Linked DNA regions of Homo sapiens: regions 1, 2 and 3 are each linked to region 4. The links are contacts of gene promoters, found by promoter capture Hi-C in blood cells and fetal thymus (Javierre and others, 2016). All regions are on one chromosome and are shown on one strand. Each heading gives the region's core, a stretch centred on a gene start or on the middle of the fragment in contact. The rest is flanking DNA. Distances are from core to core; before and after follow the strand shown.

What was found. The method cuts DNA at HindIII sites, captures the fragments that hold promoters and counts their contacts. A CHiCAGO score of 5 or more calls a contact.
Region 1: the fragment with the promoter of CELSR2 here is called in contact with the fragment with the promoter of GPR61 in region 4 in 12 of 17 cell types (naive CD4 T cells, erythroblasts, total CD8 T cells and 9 more); the score reaches 9.7 in naive CD4 T cells.
Region 2: the fragment with the promoter of PSRC1 here is called in contact with the fragment with the promoter of GPR61 in region 4 in 8 of 17 cell types (activated CD4 T cells, naive CD4 T cells, total CD8 T cells and 5 more); the score reaches 11.3 in activated CD4 T cells.
Region 3: a contact is called between a fragment that was not itself captured here and the fragment with the promoter of GPR61 in region 4, in 3 of 17 cell types (M2 macrophages, M0 macrophages and erythroblasts). The highest score is 5.8, in M2 macrophages.

Annotation. Positions count from the first base shown.
Region 1 is chr1:109,246,200-109,251,687 of GRCh38, reverse strand. It overlaps CELSR2 (cadherin EGF LAG seven-pass G-type receptor 2), which reads right to left and starts at 2,149. Exons shown (of 34, transcript NM_001408.3): 1 at 1-2,149. The coding sequence starts at 1,608. RefSeq lists silencers at 502-692, 1,791-1,890, 2,051-2,110 and an enhancer at 2,112-2,832. The HindIII fragment of the contact is 8,037 bases long and covers 1-4,078 here.
Region 2 is chr1:109,281,895-109,287,246 of GRCh38, reverse strand. It overlaps PSRC1 (proline and serine rich coiled-coil 1), which reads left to right and starts at 4,102. Exons shown (of 8, transcript NM_001032291.3): 1 at 4,102-4,184; 2 at 4,511-4,567; 3 at 4,672-4,729; 4 at 5,187-5,352. The coding sequence starts at 4,549. RefSeq lists enhancers at 3,591-3,640, 3,008-3,733. The HindIII fragment of the contact is 13,254 bases long and covers 1-5,352 here.
Region 3 is chr1:109,943,999-109,949,300 of GRCh38, reverse strand. No RefSeq gene overlaps it. Among named protein-coding and RNA genes, the nearest start is that of CSF1, 36 kb to the right of the region's middle. The HindIII fragment of the contact is 2,020 bases long and covers 841-2,860 here.
Region 4 is chr1:109,538,091-109,543,662 of GRCh38, reverse strand. It overlaps GPR61 (G protein-coupled receptor 61), which reads right to left and starts at 3,791. Exons shown (of 2, transcript NM_001393907.1): 1 at 3,710-3,791; 2 at 1-1,241. The coding sequence starts at 640. RefSeq lists enhancers at 3,277-3,776, 3,777-4,278. The HindIII fragment of the contact is 3,019 bases long and covers 2,835-5,572 here.

The DNA of each region.
Region 1 (5,488 bases), core at 900-3,399, 290 kb after region 4:
GTCACCAGCATCAGCGTCGATAGCCTGGACATGGAGAACCAGGTAGCCTAAGGGGACACTCTCCAGGACAGTAGCCTGGAAAGGGGTGCTGACGAAGATGGGGGCATTGTCGTTGATATCCAGGACCTGTACTGTCACCAAGCCAGAGACATTAGAGAGTGGGGGACGGCCACCATCCTGTGCTCGCACCCGTAGGGTGTACTCCTTGGTCGTCTCATAGTCAAGAGGGCTCACCACATCCAGAGCTCCAGTCTGGGCATCCAGATAAAACTGTCCCCGAGCATTGCCACTCATGATGCTATAGTGCACCACGGCATTGCTCCCCTTGTCTCGATCCGAGGCTGTGACTCGGAGTACTGGGGCCCCTGGAGTCACATCCTCCCTCACCTGGACCACATAGCGCTTCTCACTAAACTGGGGGGCATTATCATTGTCATCCTCCACAGAAAGGAAAACAGCGGCTGTGGTACTCCGAGGACCCGGGTCCCGACCCTGGTCACTTGCCTCTACCGTCAGCTGGTAGGATTCCACCTCTTCCCGATCCACAGGGCCACGGGTTCGGATCACCCCAGAGCGAGGGTCGATCTCAAAGACTTCAGAGGGGCTGCCCCCAGACCCCTCCAGCAGGCGGTACAGAATATTGGCATTGGGAGGGGCATCACCATCCGTGGCCCTGACAGTGAGCACCTCATAGCCAACCTCCAGGTTCTCCCTGAGGCTCTCCTTGTACTCCTGCTGCTCGAACACAGGGTCATGGTCATTGGTGTCAGTAACCAAGATGGTGAGTGTAGCCAGGGCACTTCGTCGGGGCATGCCGTGGTCCTGCGCCGTGACCCTGAAGACGTGGGTGCTCTTGGTCTCACGATCCAGCTCCTCGGCTGTGGTTACTGCACCAGTGACTGGGTCCAGGGAGAAGAACTGGTTGGAGCGGCTATCAAAGAGGGCATCCATGGTGTACTCCAGTCGACCTGCCTCACCCTCGTCCGGGTCGATGGCCCTCAGGGATGCAACAGGGGTGCCTGCTGGCTGGTTCTCCGGCACTGTGGCCTGGTAGCTGGGGGGCTGGAACTGGGGGGCTGTATTTACATTCCTTTTCCGACGCCCACCCAGGGACTCTTCTGGTGACCTTTCCCCTGCCCTGAGCCCGGGGGCCTGTGCCAGCTTGCAGGACTGGCATCTGAGCCGTGGAGCCTTTAAGCACGGGTGCTCCTCGGGCAGTGTGAGCTTGCCCTGTGGGGAAAGGTGGCCTCCAATGCCCAGGAGGCGACAGCTCCAGGGGCAGCCTTCAGGAGCTGGTGGTAGGGGAATATGGGCCTCGGATTCTGGACACCAAACCCTCAGGCCATCGTGGTGGGGTACCAGGTGGCCAGTCAGCTCAGTGCCCGCATCCCTGCAGCGGCTGGTGTAGAGCCAGAGGTTCGACGCTGAGGATGGACAGAGCCAGCCCATGGGGGCGCAGGCCCCCGAAGAGCCTCGTCCCCTGGACCCCAAGGAACGACAGGGCCCCACTTGGTCTCCCAATAGTGGCGGCGGCAGCAGCAGCAGCAACAGCAGCAGCAGCGGCGGCGGCGGCGTTGGGAGGGGGACGCCGGTGGCCGGGCTCCGCATCTCTCCCAGCTCCCGGCCGGCGGCCGGGTCAACGGCGGCGGCGGCTCCTCCTCCGGCTCCTGCCGGCCCCGCCGCGCCTCATGCCCGGGCCAGGGCGCCAGTCCCCGGGGGCCTCCCGTGCGCCCCGCGGGGCCTGCGTCTGGATGGCTCGGCGGGACCCCGCGCTGCACCCTCCGACGAGCCCGGGCTCCCACTGCCCCCTGAGCCAGACCCGCTCCCGGGTCACCCTGAGCACCGCGGGCTGCCGCCGCGCCTCCACCTGCGCTCCGGGCACTCACCACCTGCGCCCGGGGGCCCCGCGGCGCCCCTGGCCTTGCCGGGCCCCGGGTTCCGGAGCCGGGGTGCCCCCTCCGCCCCTATGGGATCGCCCACCTGCGCCCGCGTAGCCGTGCGCCCCGACCCCGGCCCGGCCCCGGCGGCCCCCGACGGTCCCGCGCCGCCCGCTCGCGCCCCGCGTCCCCGCCGCGGCTGCTGCCTGTCGCCGCGGCCCCGGGCCCAGCCCCGCGCTCCCTCGCCTCCCCGGCGGGCGGGCGAGCTCTGCAGAGTCGCGGCGGCGGCTCATTACCATAGACCTGCTCGCGCCGCGGCCGCCTTAAAGCGGCAACGCCGGCCGCGCTGGAGGAGGTGGGCCCCACCCAGAGCACTCCTCCGCCCAAAGCGCCAGGATTCCCTCCAGCAGGACCCTCCATCCCAATTTCCCCAGGCCGGCCTCGCCAGATGCCCGGTGCGAATTAGCGATCGGAAGCCACACAGCCGATGATAATCATGGTGGAAGTACCCTAAGTATGCCTAGAGGTTTCCAAAACATTTTAAGGGCTCTCAGAGGCCAAGTTTCCAGTTCATTCCAGTCATAAAAGCCCTCGTTGCTGTCCCCTCCCATAGGTCAGACAGAGTTAAAAGGGCCCTGAGCAACACAACAAAGCCTCCAAAATCCCAGAGAAGCACCCACAATGAGTCACCGGGCCCACTCGCTCCCTACCGTCCCCTCCACCCCACCAGCGAGGCTGTTGTCTGACCAGCATGCCCCTTGGGGTCGGGCTGTTGGAAGAATGACCCCAGCCTCATGTTGGACACCACTTGGGCTTTTCCAGGGAAGTAAATTAGAAGGGTCAGAGTGGGTGGAAGCCAGGTGGTGCAAACACACTGTCACCAGATTCGGAGGCCGGCTGCGGTGGAGCCTAGCTTTAACACAGGCTTCCTGGATTCTAGACAAGGGGCTTACACTGCCCCCTGAGGTCCTGTCTAGAGAGGCGGCCTCTCATCCCCTCCTGCCTCCCTGTCCATGTCCTGCGGCTACCCCCTCCTTCCGCCACAGTTTTGTGACCAGCGAGGAGGCCTACCTGGTACCCGGGCTCCTGACCCTCTCCAAGGCAGCTTCATTTGAGAGGGTGTGCAGGATTCCAGGGGTTCTCCAAGAGGACCAGACATGAAGCTGGACCACACGGAGAGCCAGGCAGGAGCCGTGCAGGCGACCCAGAAAAGGCTTCCCTACATCCTGGAGCAGCCAGGGGCCCAGTCAGGTAGTCCCTGGGGGGATGCCCTGGCCTGGGGGGATGCCTGGGCCTGGGTCCCAGCCTCCAACACCACAGCTATGTGACCTTGCTCAAATTCTGTGCCTCAATGTCCCTTTTTGTAAAATGAGGGGATTGAATAAGGTGAATGGTTCTCAAATGTTTATTTAGCAGTAGAATTCTTTTCTTCAAAAGAAATCTGAAGTGGAAGGCCAGAATATAGAACAGATGAGTAGTGCTGCTGGGTTGAAGTGAGGGGGTCAGGGCCTTGCCCCTCTCCACCACTCCCCCAACCAAGAAATCCCTGGGCTGCTCTGTGCAACTTGAGGGTCTGGAGGAACCCATCTGAAAAGCACTGGATCAGGTGCTCCCTTCTACCACTGCCCCCGGTCACAGTGGTGCCACTCTCACTGGGTCACAGCAGAGGATCCCCCAGCCCCAGGCCCAAGGAGTGTCTGTGTGACCACACAGTGAGGCCAAGGATGAGAAATCAGCTTTTCTCTTTTCCCCTGGGGAAACAGGAAAGGAGATGGGCCTTGGGTACAGCAAGAAAGATTAGGGTTAGACTGTGCTCCTGGCAGGATGGATAGAAGTAGGAGGAGGACCCATGGCTCAAGGAAATGCCCTCCCCTTTGACCAAACAGGAGCTTTCTTCCTCTGAGCAAGGCCAAGGGCAGCTCTGGAGATGGAGGCGTGGGTTACACGCCTCCGCAGGGCTCTGCCTCTCTAGACTTCCTCAGACTCTGGAGTTTGGAAGGATCTAGGGGCTGCGTGGGCATTTTGTTCTTCACCTAATAGCCATGTGGTGCAGAGAATGCTTGGAAATTATACCATCTGTTAATTATCCTTTGAATTGGGGTTGGGTAATGAGACTCTCATTTCTGGTGAAGGCCCAAGCCAACCCGTGGAGAAGCTGCAACTCTCCATTCATCTCGCTCCCTTTGTTGCTAAAATAAGCTTTCTGGGTGGGAGGAAAGAGTAGCCCTGGCTCTGGATCACGGAAGGTGGTTCTGGGGCCTTGCACCTTGAGGCAGGGGTTGCCAGGGAAGGCATGAGCTCAGAAGCCCCTTCCAGGTGGGTGGCCTTTCCACCCAAAGGCAGATAGGTTGGGGGATCCAAGGAACCCTTTCCTTCATCCCCAAGCACATTTGGCAAATAGTCCTTAATCCTCCCCAGTCCTCCCTCCGGGGGCACAGGACAGAGCTCTCTCCCCATCACTTCCTCAGATACTTCCAACTCCCAAAAGCAGGAGGGAAATTTCCAAGTTTCATATGCATCACTGAGAGTCTCAAATGAGGGAGGGGTTGCCCTGGTGGAGGCCTCCCTGATCCCCAGGGAAGGGCTGCCTGCTTCATGGAGCTTTCCAGTTGTAAGGAACCTATGGACCTCCCTCCTGTGTGTAAGGGACATTTAGGCCTCCCTTCTGCATAGCTTTTAGGTGCTATCAAGGGGCAGCAAGGGCTTGGGGTCTGTTAAAAGAGAATTTATTGTTCTTCTAGTCCAAACCTCCCACTTCACAGTGGAGGCTCTGGGAAGGAAGGAAACCTGCTTGGCTAGCCTTGCGGCTGTCCTTTAGCTCTGGTGGGATTTCCTTACTCAGGTTGCTTCCTGAGGACCCCCTGGATAAGGCATGGCCCTGGCTTTCAACACAACAGGGTCGCATGGGTGAAGTGCTCCAGAAGCAACTGAGAGAAAAGGCTAAAGGAATTCAGAGGACAGAGCAGTGAGGGTGGAGGAAATCCCAGAGGGCCTCTAGAGGAGACGGGACTTGGGCTGCATCTTCAAGAATCAGGAACAGCATTCCTGGAAGAGGAATTCATCAGTTAAGTCACTTAATCTACACATTAAGTGTCTTCTCCATGATTATACAGCTAGTAATGGAAGAGCTAGGATTTGGACCCCGGCAATCTGACCCCAGAGCCCACTCTCTTAAGCAGTACACTATGAATGAATGAAAGGAATGAATGAAATGCAAGCATCAGCTTGGCTGGAGCTGAAGATTGGGGTGGCTCTGCTGTGGCCTAGCACGCTGGTGAGGAAGAACAAGGTGAGCTCTGCCTTGGGCAGATCCCTGTGGCCTGAAATTCTGGAACCAATGGCCTGCTGGGAAGGAGGGGTGGGGAGGGAGGCTGCTGATGGGATCGGTCATGGTGACCTTTTGTGGGTGGGCAGGGCAGTTTCTCTGGAAAGAGAAAGAGGCCCTGGCACCCGATCCCATTTCTGGGCTCTGTGCTGCTTTAGAAAGGGCACAGAAACCAGAAGGAGAGAACCTGGCCATGGGTGACTCCTGGAGCTCCTGGACTGTGGGGTGGGTGGCGTGAAGGAACCAGGAGCCAGCAGACTGGGGGATGGGGGTGGCCAGAAATCTG
Region 2 (5,352 bases), core at 2,853-5,352, 260 kb after region 4:
AAAGAAAAAGAAAAGAAAAATATATTTTGAGGTAAAATACTTTAATTTCTTTCAGGGCCTACTGTCTGTCATGTGATACTATACTAGAATCAGGCTGGAATTTGGCGTCTTATTGTCAGAGGCGTTTCGACCAGAGCAATTCCATCTTGAATAGGGGCTGGTTAAATAAGGCTGAGACCTACTGGGCTGCATTCCCAGACAGGAATTCTAAGTAACAAGATGAGATCCTAAGGAGGTCAGCACAAGATACAGGTCATAAAGACCTTGCTGATGAAACAAGTTGCAGTAAAGAAGCCGGCTAAAACCCACCAAAACCAAGACGATGATGAGAGTGACCTCACTGCTACACTCCCACTAGCACCATGACAGTTTACAAATGCCATGGCAACATCCAGAAGTTACCCTATATGGTCTAAAAAAAGGAGGCATGAATAATCCACCCCTTGTTTAGCATATCATCAAGAAATAATCATAAAAATGGGCAACCACCAGCCCTCGGGCTGCTCTGCCTATGGAGTAGCCATTCTTTATTCCTTTACTTTCTTAATCAACTTGCTTTCACTTTATGGACTCGCCTTGAATTCTTTCTCGTGTGAGATCCAAGAACCCTCACTTGGGGTCTGGATTGGGACCCCTTTCCAGTAATATTATTGCTACAAAAAGTCTGTTTCTGGCCAAGCGTGGTGGTTCATCCCTGTAATCCCAGCACTTTGGGAGGCCAAGGTGGGCGGATCACCTGAGGCAGTTCACGGCCATGGCGAAACACCATCTCTACTAAAAATACAAAAATTAGCTGGGCTTGGTGGCGTGTGCCTGTAATTCCAGCTACTCGGGAGGCTGAGACGGGAGAATCGCTTGAACTCAGGAGGCAGAGGTTGCAATGAGCTGAGATTGCACCACCGCACTCCAGCCTGGGCAACAAAGTGAGACTCCATCTCAAAAAAAAAAAAAAAAAAAAAAGTCTGTTTCCTTAGCCTTAAGATCTTTGTGGTTTTGTTGTTGTTATTGTTGTTGTTTGTTTTTTTTGTTTTTGAGACAGTGTCTCGTTCTGTCACCCAGACTGGAGTGCAGTGGCGTGATAGCTCACTGCGACCCCCGCCTCCTGGGTTCAAGCGATTCTCCTGCCTCAGTCTCCCAAGTAGCTGGGATTACAGGTGCCTACCACCATGCCCGGCTAATTTTTTTGTACTTTTAGTAGAGATGGTGTTTCACCACGTTGGCCAGGCTGGTCTTGAACTCCCGACCTCAGATGATCTGCCTGCCTCGGCCTCCCAAAGGGCTGGGATTACAGGCGTGAGCCACCGCCCCCTGGCCAGATCTCTGTTTTAATGTTAATGTTGGTCAGCTGTGCCTGATTCCCAAAGGGCAGAGAGTATAATGAGGCATGTCCAACCCCCACTTTCCATTATGGCCTGAACTAGTTTTCCAGGTTAAATCTGGAATGCCCTTGTCAGAGAGAAGGGGTCCATTCAGTTGGTTGGGGGGCTTAGAATTTTATTTTTGGTTTCCAGCTTCTTGGTCTCTGGTGGCATTTATTACAGTGACATCTCACTCCTGCAGACCTCACCACCTCAACGTCACAGCCAAAAACTAGAAAGTAAACAAGAAAGCCTATAAATGGCCAAAAAAATGGGCATGAACTCTGAGGACTAAAGCTCAGGTTCTGTTTACCAGAAAGCTCCTCAACCATTCCCTTAGGGCTTTTTCACTTTAAATATTCAGAACCTTTCTAGGAGCTCAGTTTATTACTGGAAAGGGGTCTTGATCCATCCAGACCCCAAGTGAGGATTCTTTGATCTTTCAAAAGAAAGAATTCAGGACGGGTCCACAGAGTAAAGTGAAAGTGAATTTATTAAGAAAGTAAAGGAATAAAAGAATGGCTACTCCATAGAGCAGCCCCAAGGGCTGCTGGTAAGCTATTTTTATGGTTATTTCTTGATTATATGCTAAACAAGGGGTGGATTATTCATAGGTTTTCTGGGAAAGGAGCATGATTTCCTGGAACTGAAGGCTCCTCTCCCTTTTATACCATATAGACGTTGCCATAGCATTTGTAAACTGTCAGGACGCTGGCAGGAGTGTCTTTTAGCATGCTAATGAATTACAACTAGCATATAATAAGCAGTGAGGATGACCAGCTGTCACTTTCTTTTTTTTTTTTTTTGAGACGGAGTCTCACTCTGTCGCCCAGGCTGGAGTGCGGAGGTGCGATCTCGGCTCACTGCAAGCTCTGCCTCCCAAGTTCACGCCATTCTCCTGCCTCAGCCTCCCGAGTAGTTGGGGCTACAGGGGCCCGCCACCACGCCCGGCTAATTTTTTGTATTTTTAGTACAGACGGGGTTTCACCGTGTTAGCCAGGATGGTCTGGATCTCCTGACCTCGTGATTCGCCCGCCTCGGCCTCCCAAAGTGCTGGGACTACAGGCGTGAGCCACCGCGCCTGGCCTACTTTCTTTACCATCTTGGTTTCTGGCAGATTTGGCCGGCTTCTTTACTGCACCGTTTTATTAGAGGGATGTTTGAGATCTGTATCTTGTGCGGACCTGCTGTCTCCTCCTGTTGTTACCAGAAAGGGGTCCGGATCCAGACCCCAAGAGAGGGTTCTTGGCCCTTGCATAGGAAATAATTCAGGGCAAGTCCATAAAGTGAAAGCAAGTTTATTAAGAAAGAAAAGGGATAAAGAATGCCTACTCCAGAGGCAGAGCAGCCCGGAGGGCTGCTGGTTGGCCATTTTTATGGTTATTTCTTGATTATATGCTAAACAAGGGATGAATTATTCATGAGTTTTCCGGGAAAGGGGTAGGCAACTCCCTGGAACTAAGAATTCCTCCCCTTTTTAGACCATGTAGGGTAATTTCCTGATGTTGCCATGGTATTTGTAAACCGTGGTGATGCTGTCTGGAGTGTCTTTTAGCATGCTAATACATTATAATTAGCGTATAATGAGGACTGAGGACCTCCAGAGGTCAGTTTCATCGCCATCTTGGTTTCGGTAGGTTTTGGCTGGCTTCTTTACCGCATGCTGTTTTACCACCAGGGTCTTTGTGACCTGTATCTTGTGCCAACCTCCTATCTCATCCTGTGACTTAGAATGCCTAACCTCCTAGGAATACAGCCCAGGTCTCAACCTTATTTTACCCAGCCTCTATTCCAGATGGAGTCGTTCTGGTTTGAAGCCTCTGACAAGTTCACTGGTGGCCCGGGCAACATTTAGAAACAACAGAGACAACACTCCTAACAAGTTGGTTTAAGCATTTTACAAATACTGCTTTTAGTTCAGAGGGGGCTACTTACAAACACCCCCTCTAAATCCCCTAAGGGCACACGGTAGAAAACGCCTTCATAATTATCCTCGTAACACCGTAACTGCGAGGACCAACATCCTCCTTTCACAGATAAGCGAAGAGAGGTGAAAAGAGGGCAAATATACTCAAGGCAGCCGCCTCTAAACCGAAACTTGGGTTCTGAGGTCAGTTAAACTTGGGTTGCATTTGAACCTAAGCCTGCCTGCGTGAAAAGCCCGTTGCTTTCTTTGCACCTCAGCTGCCTCAGGTTCTTGAAGAGGCGATGGAGGATGTACTTCTAAGAGAACCTCAATATACCTACAATATAAGTGTTTAGGTGCTCCCTTAACTTGGAAAAAACCCACAACTGAGGAACCTCGGCCAATGCGGCGCCTGCATATTGAGTGCGCCCAAGAAAACGAATTTCCTCCCGTAGAGCGTCGGTTAGCGGCCACGTTAGGCAGCACAACCGTTCTGGAGACTGGGTGCTCGGCGGCCCAGCAGAGGGAGCGGGGCGGGGCGCGAGTTCCATACTCGTGGGTCCGTTTCTTCCCTCCTGGCCAGCCGCGCTCTGCTCCCATCTGCCTACGGGAAAGAGAGTCTCCGCGCACGCGAGCACGCGCACTCGCAGCCTCAACCCTCGGCTCCGCCACCGGGATGCAGTCTTCTGGGAACGGTTCTCCCCCAGCCCCCACCGGCTGACTTCCGGCCGGCAGCTCCTCAGCCCCTCCCCCTGAGGATTCACCAATCACGGTGCGCGTGTGGCTTGAGTAGGTGGGGCCTGAGAGATTCGAAAGGAGCCCCGCCCCCTCGGAGCTGATTCCCGGGACTAGGTTGCGGGAGAAAGCCTGTTGCGTGGAAGATAAGGCGGCGCGGGAAGTGGACACAGGGTGGGCTGGAGGTGTGCTTCGCGTGTGATGCCAGGGGAGTGGAAAGGTGGCTTGGGGAGTGCAGAACCCTGAGGATAGTGGCGGGGAGGAAGATGGGGCGTGCAGGCCGCCCCCAGTGAGGAGAGGCCAGGATGCAGGGCGGCTCCAGGGCAATCTGGGCAGTTGGGGGAGCCCTCCGTATCGTTCCCGGAGGTAGCAGGAGTAGCTGTGCGGGAGGTGCCACTCCTGGGCGCTTGCTTTGCCTCCAGCATGACCCCCGACCCTGGCTTGCACCCTGAATCTAGCTGCGAGCCTTGGGCAGAATGGATACCTGAGGAAAGGTATGGTTTCTCTCCAGCTCAGATCTAACTGGACTCTCGCTCCTGCTGGCTGGACATGGAGGATTTGGAGGAAGGTAAGGAAAGGAGGGAGGGAAGAATGAAAGGGAGGAGTGAGACCCAGCGATGGAGAGCTGCATCAGGGACCCATGACTGGCTTTCATTCTTCTTTCCCCTTCAGATGTAAGGTTTATTGTGGATGAGACCTTGGACTTTGGGGGGCTGTCACCATCTGACAGGTACCAGCCTCTTTATCCCACTTATTTTCCTCTAACAGTACCTCTTTGTCTCGAATCCCTTACTGCTGAATTATTGGCTTGGGTTGGTAACTTAGCAAGGTTTGGCGCACTTGGGGCTGCTGGGCGGCTGGCTGACTCGGGCCTCTATGACACTATTGGTAGCGGGGAGAGAAGGGAGAAGCTGGAGTTAGATTTCAGGGTGTTAAGAAGAAGGATAAGTGGATTTGCTGCATCTCCATCCTGGCATCATTTCTGATGTCCGTAAATGCTAAAGGCCTATTAGGCCCCATAGAACCAGGTATCTCATCGCCCAGAGGCCACATCTCACAGCCAGCATGGGCATCGGGGCCTAGGGTCATGTCCCTGGCTCTGTTGTGGGGCTTTTATGCAGTCTCCCTTGCATAATCTCCTGTTCCCTTTTGCATGGGCATGATGCCTGGTTTGTTTCCTGTCTCAGCCGTGAGGAGGAAGACATAACAGTGTTGGTGACTCCAGAGAAACCACTTCGACGGGGCCTCTCCCACCGAAGTGACCCAAATGCAGTGGCACCTGCCCCCCAGGGTGTGAGGCTCAGCCTAGGCCCCCTCAGTCCAGAGAAGCTGGAGGAGATCCTCGATGAGGCC
Region 3 (5,302 bases), core at 601-3,100, 410 kb before region 4:
CGTAAATGTCTGACTATTGAAGAAATGAAAAAAATTTATTAAGGACAAGGTAGAGAAATATAAACATATATTATTATTATTATTATTGTTATTTAGACAGGGTCTCACTTTGTCCCTCAGGCTGGAGTGTAGTGGCACAATCTTCGTTCACTGCAGGCTTGACCTCCTGGGTTCAAGCGATCCTCCTGCCTCAGCCCCAGAAGTAGCTGGGACTAAAGGTACATACCACCACGCCCAGCTAACTTTCATATTTTTTTGAAGAGATGGGGTTTCACCATGTTGGCCAGCCTGGTCTCGAACTACTGACCTCAAATGATCTGCCCGCCTCACCCTCCCAAACTGCTGGGATTACAGGCGTGAGCCACCACACCTGGCCAAATATATAAAGATTACTCTGAACTTTACAGCAGCTACATACAAGACTATGCTATAGAAATAAAAGATGTGACAAATATTAAAAGCTTATCCCCAAGTAGAAAACAATAGATGGAGAAAATACTGGCTTGTGTCTGGATTCTACTCTGTAAATTGTCAAAGGAGAGGAACAGTTTATTCCCCCCAAAAAGGAAGAACAATTATCACATAAAAAAATACAGCCTTGAAAGTAATAAAGAGAAGCCCATTTAAACAACTTTAACATATCATTCTAGAACTATTAGACTAGCAAAAAGCTAGTAAAAGTAATAAATCCCATGTTAACAGAACTGTGGGGAAACAGGTACTTATATGTTGCTGGTGATAATGTGAACTTGTGCAATCTCTTAAACAATAAAAGGATATGCATCAAAGGCAGTAAAAATGCTCATATCTTTTGGAGTATTTATTCTGTTTTTGGAAGCTTATCTACAAGGAAGTAAATAAACCAAAAATTAAGCAAACAAAAAAAAATCAATCTGTTTCATACTGTGTAAAAAAGTGAAACTTGAAAATGACTCAGGTGCCAAATAATAGAGGAAATTCTAAGCAACTTTTCTTATAATAACACACTGGACAATTAAGAATGAAAATCTGGGGACTTTTTTTAACATGAAAGAATGTGAATGTCAACACAGCAGTGCTACCACCTGAGATGTTGAAGTGTGATTTTTCTGTAATAAAGCCAAGAGAGGTCACCCCTGAGATCAGAATTCTAATCTTTGGAACAATGCGCTGCCCAGAACTTACTGTACTAGGTGAAGAATCCTCTTACACAGGGTTATGCCAACCTGCCAGATTGAAAAGTCTAAGAAACTCCCTGGTGAGGCTTGAGGCTTGAAGTAACGATTTCATTTCACTTCATGGACGCTATTAACTCGGCCTCATGGACACACTTGTCCTGCAGTAAGATGAAGAGAGGAGGGTGCCCAGGCAGGCAGGACTGAAAGGTTCAGTTTCATTAGGAACTGGGTGCCCAAAGGAGGAAGCTGTAAGCCACGCTCCTGGAAAGTAGAGAACTTCGCAGGGAGCATGGGACCAGGGAGGAAGTGCCTTCTAAGGCTGCAGGAGTGGCAGGCCTTGGGACGGGAAAATTCCAGAGTAAAGATCCATTGTGAGGGAATTTCGCCTGTGTGAACCCAGAGCCTTCTGTAAATGCCACGGGATGCCTGAAAGTTCTAAACAGGAAACATGGCAAGACGGAGAGGAGCTACAATTTATTTGTCCAACTCATAATGCAGGTAAACAGGAAGATGAGATGTTTTGCCTACCTGCATGCCATGCCAGACTGCCTGGGTTTGAATTCTTTTTTTTTTTTTTTTTTTTTTTTTTTTTTAGATGTAGTCTCACTCTGTCACCCAGGCTCAAGTGCAGTGGCATGATCTTGGCTCACTGCAACCTCCATCTCCTGGATTCAAGCAATTCCCCCTGCCTCAGCTTCCCGCGTAGCTGGGATTACGGGTGTGCACCACCATGCCCACCTAATTTTTGGATTTTTAGTAGAGAAGGGGTTTCACTACGTTGGCCAGACTGGTCTGGAACTCCTGACCTCAGGTGATCCACCCGCCTTGGCCTCCCAAAGTGCTGGGATTACAGGTGTGAGCCACCACACCCAGCCCTGGCTTTGAATTTTGACTCTACCATTTATTAGCTGTGTGACCTTGGGCAAGTCACTTACACGCCTGTGGCTCAGTTTAACAACAGCACCTTCCTCTTAGGGATGCAGTGAGGTTTAGGTGCAACAAAACAGGGAAAGCTCCCACATTGGGATTCTCATTAACTGCAAGCTCCTATCATTATTTTGTACTAAGGTTATCTTGCCATGCAGCAAAGTGCCTGGGAGCACAGCTCAGAGAATAAGAAAGTTTGGATCAGATAGAAGCATCAGGAATTTATAACCAAGAGCTACCCAAAACAGTGAGGATCTGGGAGGAGGAAGAAAGAAAGCCTTCAAGTTATTTACACTGGAGATGCTAGGCTGGCGTGGGAAGGTTGGATGCCCTAAGCCTTCAGGTCTCAGTTGGGCTACCAGGCAGGTTTCTCCCCTCACCAGAGGCCGTCTCACAGTCAGCCTTGGGACCCTGGCTAGAGGCAGTTCTCCTTGAATTGCTTCGAGTGAGGCAGGACTGGTCCCAAATGGAGTCATGGGGTCATTGGGCACTAGACCACGGGTGCCTTGAAGACCTCACTGTGTGAGAGACAGATTGAGAAACACATCCAAGAATTTAGGAAGTAGATAGTGCTTTTTTTTTTTTCTTCCTGCTGATTGCCTGCCCATTGGTTGAGAGTGGGTAGTGTCAAAATTAAATCCTGATGCTTGTGCATTTTCCCTGGGAAAAGTTACAGATTTCGCTGGCTGAGGCAGTGGATGGGCGGGCAAGTGCAGGGACTAAGTGAAGGGGTCTGGAGGAGGGAAGAAATGTCTTCAGGGCATTTTTCGGAAGCTTTGCTGTGCAATGTGTTGTATAATCTTCTCCTCTATGTCCCAAGATAATTGTGCTAAAGACTGACATTTATTTTAAGGCTTTAAAAAAAAAGTTAGCTTTAGATTTCTTTGGAATGTTGTGCTGTGATGCTCCCTAAGGCACAAGCAATAGAAGTCTGTAAGTATGGGATTGTTCATTCACACAATCATTATTTATTAAGCACCTACTGTATCTGAGGAGCCATGTTAGGAGACGAGAATAGAGAGGTAGATAAGGTACAGTCTTAGTCTTCAAGTTGCTCACAGTGTACTGGAGATACAGATAAATATACAAATAATAGGTAAATTGTTGGTGTAATAATAATTGCGGTAGGCTGAATAATGTCTCCCAAACAGATCCAGGTCCTCGTGTCTGGAAACTAGGAATGCCATCTTACCCAGGTGGGCCCTAAAGGTGATCAGAAGAGTCCTTATAAGAGGAAGGCAGGGGGAGATCTCCCCACAGAAGAGAAGGCAATGTGATGGCAGAAGCTGCAATTGGTGTGATGAGCGTTGAAGACGGAGGAAGGGAGCGCACACCAAGGAATGCAGGAGGCCTCTAGAAGCTGAAAAAGTCAAAGAAACAGATTCCCCCTCAGAGTGTCTGGAAGGAACCAGCCCGACCCACACCTCGACTCTGGCCCACTGAGACCAATTTCAGACTTCTGAACTCCAGATATTTAAGATAATAAATTGAATCAATTTGTGGGGGTTTTTTGTTTGTTTTTGAGACAGGGTCTCACTTTGTTGCCCAGGCTGGAGTGCAATGGTGCCATATTGGATCATGGCAACCTCTGCCTCCCTGGTTCAAGCAATTCTTCTGCCTCAGCCTCCTGAGTAGCTGGGATTACAGGTCTGAGCCATCACGCCCGGCTAATTTTTGTATTTTTAGTAGAGACCAGGTTTTACCATGTTGGCCAGGCTGGCCTAGAACTGCTGACCTCAAGTGATTCACCCACCTTGACCTCCCAAAGTGCTGGGACTACAGGTGTGAGCCACCACACCCGGCCAAATTTGTGTTGTTTTAAGTGACTAAGTTTGCAGCAATTAGTTATATCGGCAATAGGAAACTAATACATTAGTGTTTAGTGAAAGAAGAGGCACAGAATGGAATGGACATCCTGACAATTGCCCTGCAGATATGCAGCTCATCCAGGTGTCAGAAGGGAATACAGAGAAGTGGTGCTATTGACTCTTGCCATAAAGGAATCTGGGAAGGACGTAAAGAACATCTTTACCTAGCACTGTGAGGTGTGGAGAGGTGAAGGGATTGGCCAGGGTCATACATATTCATTTACTGAGCATCTGCTCTGAACCAGCTCCTGTGTTGGTTTTGATGGGATATGAAAATAATTAAGGCAGGGTTCTTGCCCTCAAGGAACTTCCAGTCCAGCAGGGGAGAGCTAGCATAAAAGCTCTGGGTTATCATGACTTTGGACCAGTTATTTAACCTCTTTGGGTTTAGGTCCTTCTATGTAAACGATAGAAAGAGCTGCTTCACCAGATGTGAGGACCAAGTGATAAAATATATGCCAACTTGCTTTGTAATCTGTAAAGCATTATAGAAATAAAAGGTGTTATTGTAATTAGGTATAAGAAAAACAAGACACTCACTTAAGTAGCTTGAAGGCATATGAGGAAGACATAAAAAAACCACAAGACACTCACTTAAGTAGCTTGAAGGCATATGAGAAAGACATAAAAGACATACTGGAGATTCAGATGGAGTGACCGAAGAGATGAACTCAGCTAGCAGGATCAACACAGCTTTCTAGAGGAAGGACATTTTAGCAGGTTGTGGTGGGACAGGAAGTAGATGTGAGAAGGGGAAGGGGAGCGAGAGCCCAAGGAAGGGCAAGGAGGAAGAACATTTACTAGATGTGAATGTGAATGTGAGTGGCTGGAGATGAGGTTAAACGGTTAAATGATAGATTGGGCCCTGATTGTGAAGGGATAACCTGCGTCCTTTGTAGGTGACTTGAACCTCTAGATGATGAGGAATTTCAGTGGTGGGGAAGTTGGCACCTTCATAGGGCTAAATCTTAACTTTTCCATAAGCCCTTCTTAATCTTGCTTCCACCACCTCATCCCAGCTCCTCATTAAGGTGTCCAGAGCAGAACCCAGGTTGTGTGGCTCCAATCGCTGCTCCTTTCTCCATCAGTTCTATTTCAACACAAGGCAGAGTTAGGAGCTGAAACTTGTTCGTGTTTTTTTTCCCTTTAAAAAATACTGTTGGAGTTTTTTTGTTTTGTTTTTGTTTTTTGTTTTAGAAAATTACTCATTGTTGGCCAGCGCGGCGGCTCATGCCTGCAATCCCAGCACTTTGGGAGGCCGAGGCGGATGGATCACCTGAGTTCAGGAGTCTGAGACCAGCCTGGCCAACAAGGTGAAACCCTGTCTCTACTAAAAATACAAAAATTAGC
Region 4 (5,572 bases), core at 2,542-5,041:
CAGCAAAGACCACCACAAAAAGCTGGCAGTAGGCACTGTGGCTCCACTGGAGTGAACAGCCTGGGGGGACACTGGGAGCTCCTTCCTCCCAGGAGACCCTTCCCAACACTGGCACAGAAGCCATGGCCAAGGCCTTCACCCACACACCCACCAGCACAGAGGCCACCAGCCCCAGCGTCATGCGCACCTCGTAGCGCATGGGGTGGACTACGTAATAGTAGCGCTCCACATTGATGGCTGACACCGAGAGGATGGCCAGGCTGACAAAGCACACGCTCAGAAACAAGTAGAGGCGGCAGGCCACCTCCCCAAAGAGGGCGTGGTCAAAGAGGGCAGAGCTGGAGAGCATGGCCAGGGGCATGAGGGTCAGGGCAGCCAGCAGGTCCACCAGGCAGAGGTGGAAGACGAAGACAAATTTTCGGAGGGCAGGCGTCTTGGCGATCACGGCCATCACAGCGGCATTGCCAGCCACAGCAGTCAAGTCCAGCAGGAGCATGAAGAAGAGGGCCACAGATTCCGAAGCAACATCCCGTAGCCCCACCTCCGGGACCCCACTGGCAGTAGAGGGACCTGGGGTTTGAGGGACCCTCCCCAAAGTGGAAGAGTTCCCTGATGACTGGGGGATGGGTGAGGACTCCATGGGGCCGAAAGAGGGCACCCAGGGTACCTCCTGTCACAGGCCCATCCCCCATCCTAGTCCAGCGACCCTGGGATGGCGAGCCCAGGCCCAGGCTTCCTGGTTTCGTAGGGGGCACCTCCCACTGGAGCCTCTTGGGCAGGTTTGTCTGCGTACAGAGCGCCAGGCCAGGCAGCTGAAGGATCAGAAGCTCATCCCCTTTCTGGCCGGAGGTAGCTGCAGGGTCTGCCTTGGTGACTGCTAAGAAGCAGGAGACGTGAGAGGTGCAGGAGCCTGACCCACTCAACACTCCGCTTTCGGAATGGCCTTCACCTCTTCCTTTTCCATCTCCTTTCTGCCATTCTTGTTCTCCATACCCTTCTACCCTTTCCAGAACTGTTAGCCGGGGATTCTAAATCCTGTTTCTCCTTCCCAGGGTCCTGCTGATCTCTGGGATAGTGCCTCAGTTTTAGGGTTCCTTATGTAAATTTCCTGATTTCTTGTCTCCTCAGAATGGCAAGAGCTGCTGGGGAGTAGAAGGAGCACAAAATTTAGTTTCTAGTCCCAGTTCTGGGCATTACTAACTCTGTGAATCTTCTGAATTTCAGTTTCCTCATAAATCCATCTGTAAAATGAAAGGAAGAACACTTGCTTCACAACTGTGTTTCTGGATCCTGCGTGATTTGTTAATAATAATACTAATGACAAGCAGTAGCATTGATACGGCGTTTTCCACATGCCAGACCCTGTTCTCAGCACTCTACCTATATTAACTCATTTTATTCCTCACACAACCCTATGAAGTAGATAATATTTTTATCTCCATTTTGCAAGAGATGAAGCTGAGGTCTAGAAAGGTTAAGTAACTTACCCAAGGTCGCACAGCTAGTAAGCGGCAAGGGCTGGGCACCTACCTGGGCAGTCTGGCCCCAGGTCCAGTACTCTTGCCCACTGTGCCATGCCATATGTGAAGGTGCCCTCCGTGCCGGCTGGACTATAATAGGCATCCAGTAAATAGTTGTTGAATTTCAGCTGTCTCTAAAACTGTCTCTTGCTGCCCTAGGGTTATCATCTGAAAAGGGGAGCTGTGCTTTAGGCTCTTTTGACATCACTACTCCCAGCACAAAGAGCTGCCACTTTGGGAATGTTGAGTAGGAGCAGTGAAAACAAAATGTCCCGTCTGGAAGGAAACTGGGAGGCCAGCTCATCCAGCCTCCACTGCTCCCAAAGCCGGAAGTTGCTTCAAGCTGCCCTTCTCCACCCACTCATGAACTCTTCAAGGCCACTGTGCCCCTCTTGTGGGAAAGGAGCTGCTGCCAACCTCCTGCTCCCCAGATCCCCAAATCTCTGATCTCTGGAGCTGACCCTTGGAGGATCCCTGACCAAGAGCCGCATTGGTTCTAGACTTACTACAGTCACAGAACAAGAAGTAGGGAGGAGACACTGAGGTTGCTCAGTTTAAAAACCCATCATTTCTATGGCTGCAATAAAGAGGATCACATGGCAAGATGGGCCCCACTCTCCTCCACAGTTATAGCCTTACAGTCACCTTTGGTTTTTGGTGTTTCCATAAACCTTACACCAATCCAACTTCTAACATGCTATGCATGCAATAGGTGCTGAATACAATTTTGTGAATTGAATCAAACTCAAATTGGTAGTTGAATCCCTGCCCCCTAGGACAAACTCCAAGAACACTCAGTCAGCCAGCTGTGTGCCAGCCAAGGGACTCTCTTGTGGAAAGGGTAGCCGGGGTTCCTGGACTTGAGGAAGCCCTAACTTTGGGCAACTGCCTAGAGACGTGCCTCTCTCTAGGGACACAGAAAGCTCATTTCACAGTTAAGATGCCCACAGAGACTTAGAGTCTGCAGAGAAGTTGAAGAGCGGGCACAAAAGTGAGACATCAGCTTCTCATTAGAGTCTACCAGGAAAAATGCCTGAAAGAAATGCTAGGAGAAGCATCCTTCCTTCTTACTCTCCATGCTCTGATTTACCTATCCCTTCTGTCTGTGAGTGAGGCCCAGAGGATGTGGTTCAGAGTCCCTCCCTGGTGGCTGAAGGAGGAGAGGCCCACCATGTCTGGATGGACATCAAGAGTCCCAGACGGAGGGAAGCAGACCTGGTTTCCACGTGGAGCTGGAGGGATGCCACGAAGCCATGATGGAGCCCTGAGCAAGAAGGCATTGGACATTGCTCTTTTTCATAGCTCCCTCAAGCTTGCCAGTGTCTCCACAGTGACTCCTAAATGCCAGGATTCCAATTTACCTCTTAACAGACAGATCAGTGTATCTGGCTAATGGGCACTCCCTCACTAATGGACTGGGGTTATGGAGGGGAGGGCTGTGGTGTAACAGTTTCATAGGTGAAACCCAGGGAGCCTCACTCCTCTCCCAGGTCATATCATTATGCCTACTCCCCCAACAGATGCTTTCCTTCCCCCACTACTTACTTCCAACAGCACCCCTCTTACCTCCAGGACCTTCAGTACCTAGAAGGCTTTGCCACTAGGGCCTGAGGTCTGGGCCTCTAGCAGGGGCATGGTCAAGTTACAGGATGCAAGATGTGCATAAGTGCCCAGCCCAAGGCCACAGAGGTATTGGGATTCACATGCACCTGTTTTCCAGATCCAGAGCTTCCATCCCAAAGACCTGAGCCTGGCCTTCCTTCAGACAAGAGCGTGCCCCTCCTAAGCTAGGGAAGATTTCCAGGGAGCTACAACACCTCTCCTCAGCAGAGTTGCCCACGCCCAGGACACAGTTGCCCATCAGCCTGTATGCTGAAGGGCCCATTCCTAGAATGTGGGAGACCCATGTCCATGACATGGAGCAAGACAGATGGAGAATGCTGTTTGTCTGCAGGATGTGGGTACTCCTGCCGGCAGGAGATGATCAACCCCCCAGCTCTGGGCTTCAGAGATGCCCACACCCCAATACCGCCTTTGGGATACCTGAGAGCCCATCTCCTGATCAAACTGCTCACCGGAATGTAGGCAGGGCTGGTCCTTGGAAAGCCACCCTTCTGTGGGGATACCTTGGCACTCACCACCAGGCTCTGGGTCTGGCCCCCATTCCTGGCCTAGTCGGCAACTCCTACCTTTGCTGAGCAGTCCCGGCTCCCATGTGATAGCTCCTCTCAGCTGATGCTTCTCCAAGGCTGCTGAAGCCTGAAGCACTGCAGTGAGCGGTGAGAGGCAGCCGGCAAAGCAGAGTGCTCCGAGAGCCTCTGGGTCCTAATGGCCTCCTGCTTCCCACCCAGCCCCTCAGAGTCACTTCTGGAGCAAAAAGGTGGGCACCAATGCCCCAGGCAAGGTGCCTGGCAGTGAGCTCAACTCCTCTCACTTCTCTCAGGCTGCTGGATTGCGTCTCAAAAATTTCGTGGGGCCAGGAAATGATAGGTAGGGGAGACCCTCTTGACCAGCCTGATGAAGTAAAAAAAAAAGTACATGGAGTCAGAAAATCCAGGTTTAAGGCCTGGCTATGGCACTTACTAGCCGTGTGACCTTGGGCAAGTTGCATTTTGGCCTTGATTTCTTAGCAGTTCAAAGAGAAGATAGGAGAGATGCATGGTTCTGTGTGACATCAGAACCAAGGTGCTGATGCAGGCAGGTCAGCGCAGACCCAGGGCCCCAAGGCTTAGGCCAGGGAGGCGGCTGAGGCTCCAGGGGATGGTCCAAGGTTTGGCCCCTTTGGAAGCTGCCTAATGCGTATGGGGGACAGGTTTAGGAGCAGCACTCAGGTTTGAAGGGCAGCTGAAGGCTTTGTCTTAACCCTGCCCTTGCCTCCCAAAAGCACATTATTATTATTTGCTTAGATTGTATGTTTATTGGAACTGGGGCTGTGAGGGCTGATGGAGATTGGCAGGGAGGGGGCGGGAGGATCTAACATCCCCCCGAGCCACCATGGGAACCACCACAACACTGCTTCCTGAAGGAGACAGAGTGGGGGCCAGGGACTCAGGAATGCTCACACTGATCTGGATTTGTGGGACTGGACAGAGCTAGGTAGCATCAGCCACTGAGCATCGCCCATCTGTGGCATGATGGGCCTTCAGAGACGCAATGAAGGGGCATGGCCTCCCTCTAGCTATGAAGAAAATGATCATTTACCCGGGTACATGACTGATACCCAAGGATAGAATCCTAACATTGCAAAGCTGTAGGACATCCTACAGGCCAAGGTATCCATGTTTCTGAGACCCAGAGAGATAAAGAGATTGCTCAAAGCCACATAGCTCCACATGGCAGAGCCATGAGTCTAAACAGGGAATTCAGGCATGATCCCCTACTCCAGAGCCTGCTTCCCTGAGACTTGCCTATCTAGGGACTCCTTCTGCCTCTAAGAAGGAAAAAGGGAATTCTGGAATTGTTTACCAGACCCAACCCAAAGAGCCATAAGAACAATGAGTTACCCAAGGACCTCACTGGGACAAGTTGGCTGCCCCAAGCCCCAGGTCAAAAACAAAGAGGCCACTGACAAACCAAGAGCCGATGCAGCAAGTGCCGCTGTCACCAGCCACCACTTTTTGAGCTGTTATGAGTGCCAGGCCCTTTACATACAGTTTCTTTGATCCCCACACCAATCTATGAGGCAGCCATGACTTGCCCTATTTTATAAGTGAGGAACCGGGTGCTGGAGGAGAAGTGACTTTCCCCAAATCACACAGCTAATAAGTGCAAGAGCTGATATTTGAACCCAGATCTGTTTGAAGTCCAAGTATTTCCTCCTCCTTCTCCCTTCGTTCCGTGGCCTCTCCAGTGGCCTGACACAAGACTGTGGACTACAGCCCTAAAAGCTATCTTCATAGAAGTAGTCACTGCCTTCCAGAAAGCCTAAAACAGACCTCAAAATTAGGCATACCTGCGTACAAGAAATTCAAATGGAAATACCAAATTGAAAACCTGTAGACAGCAAAGTGATTTTTAGGAAGCCCTGTGCTGTTGTGTTGGCAAGATTAATT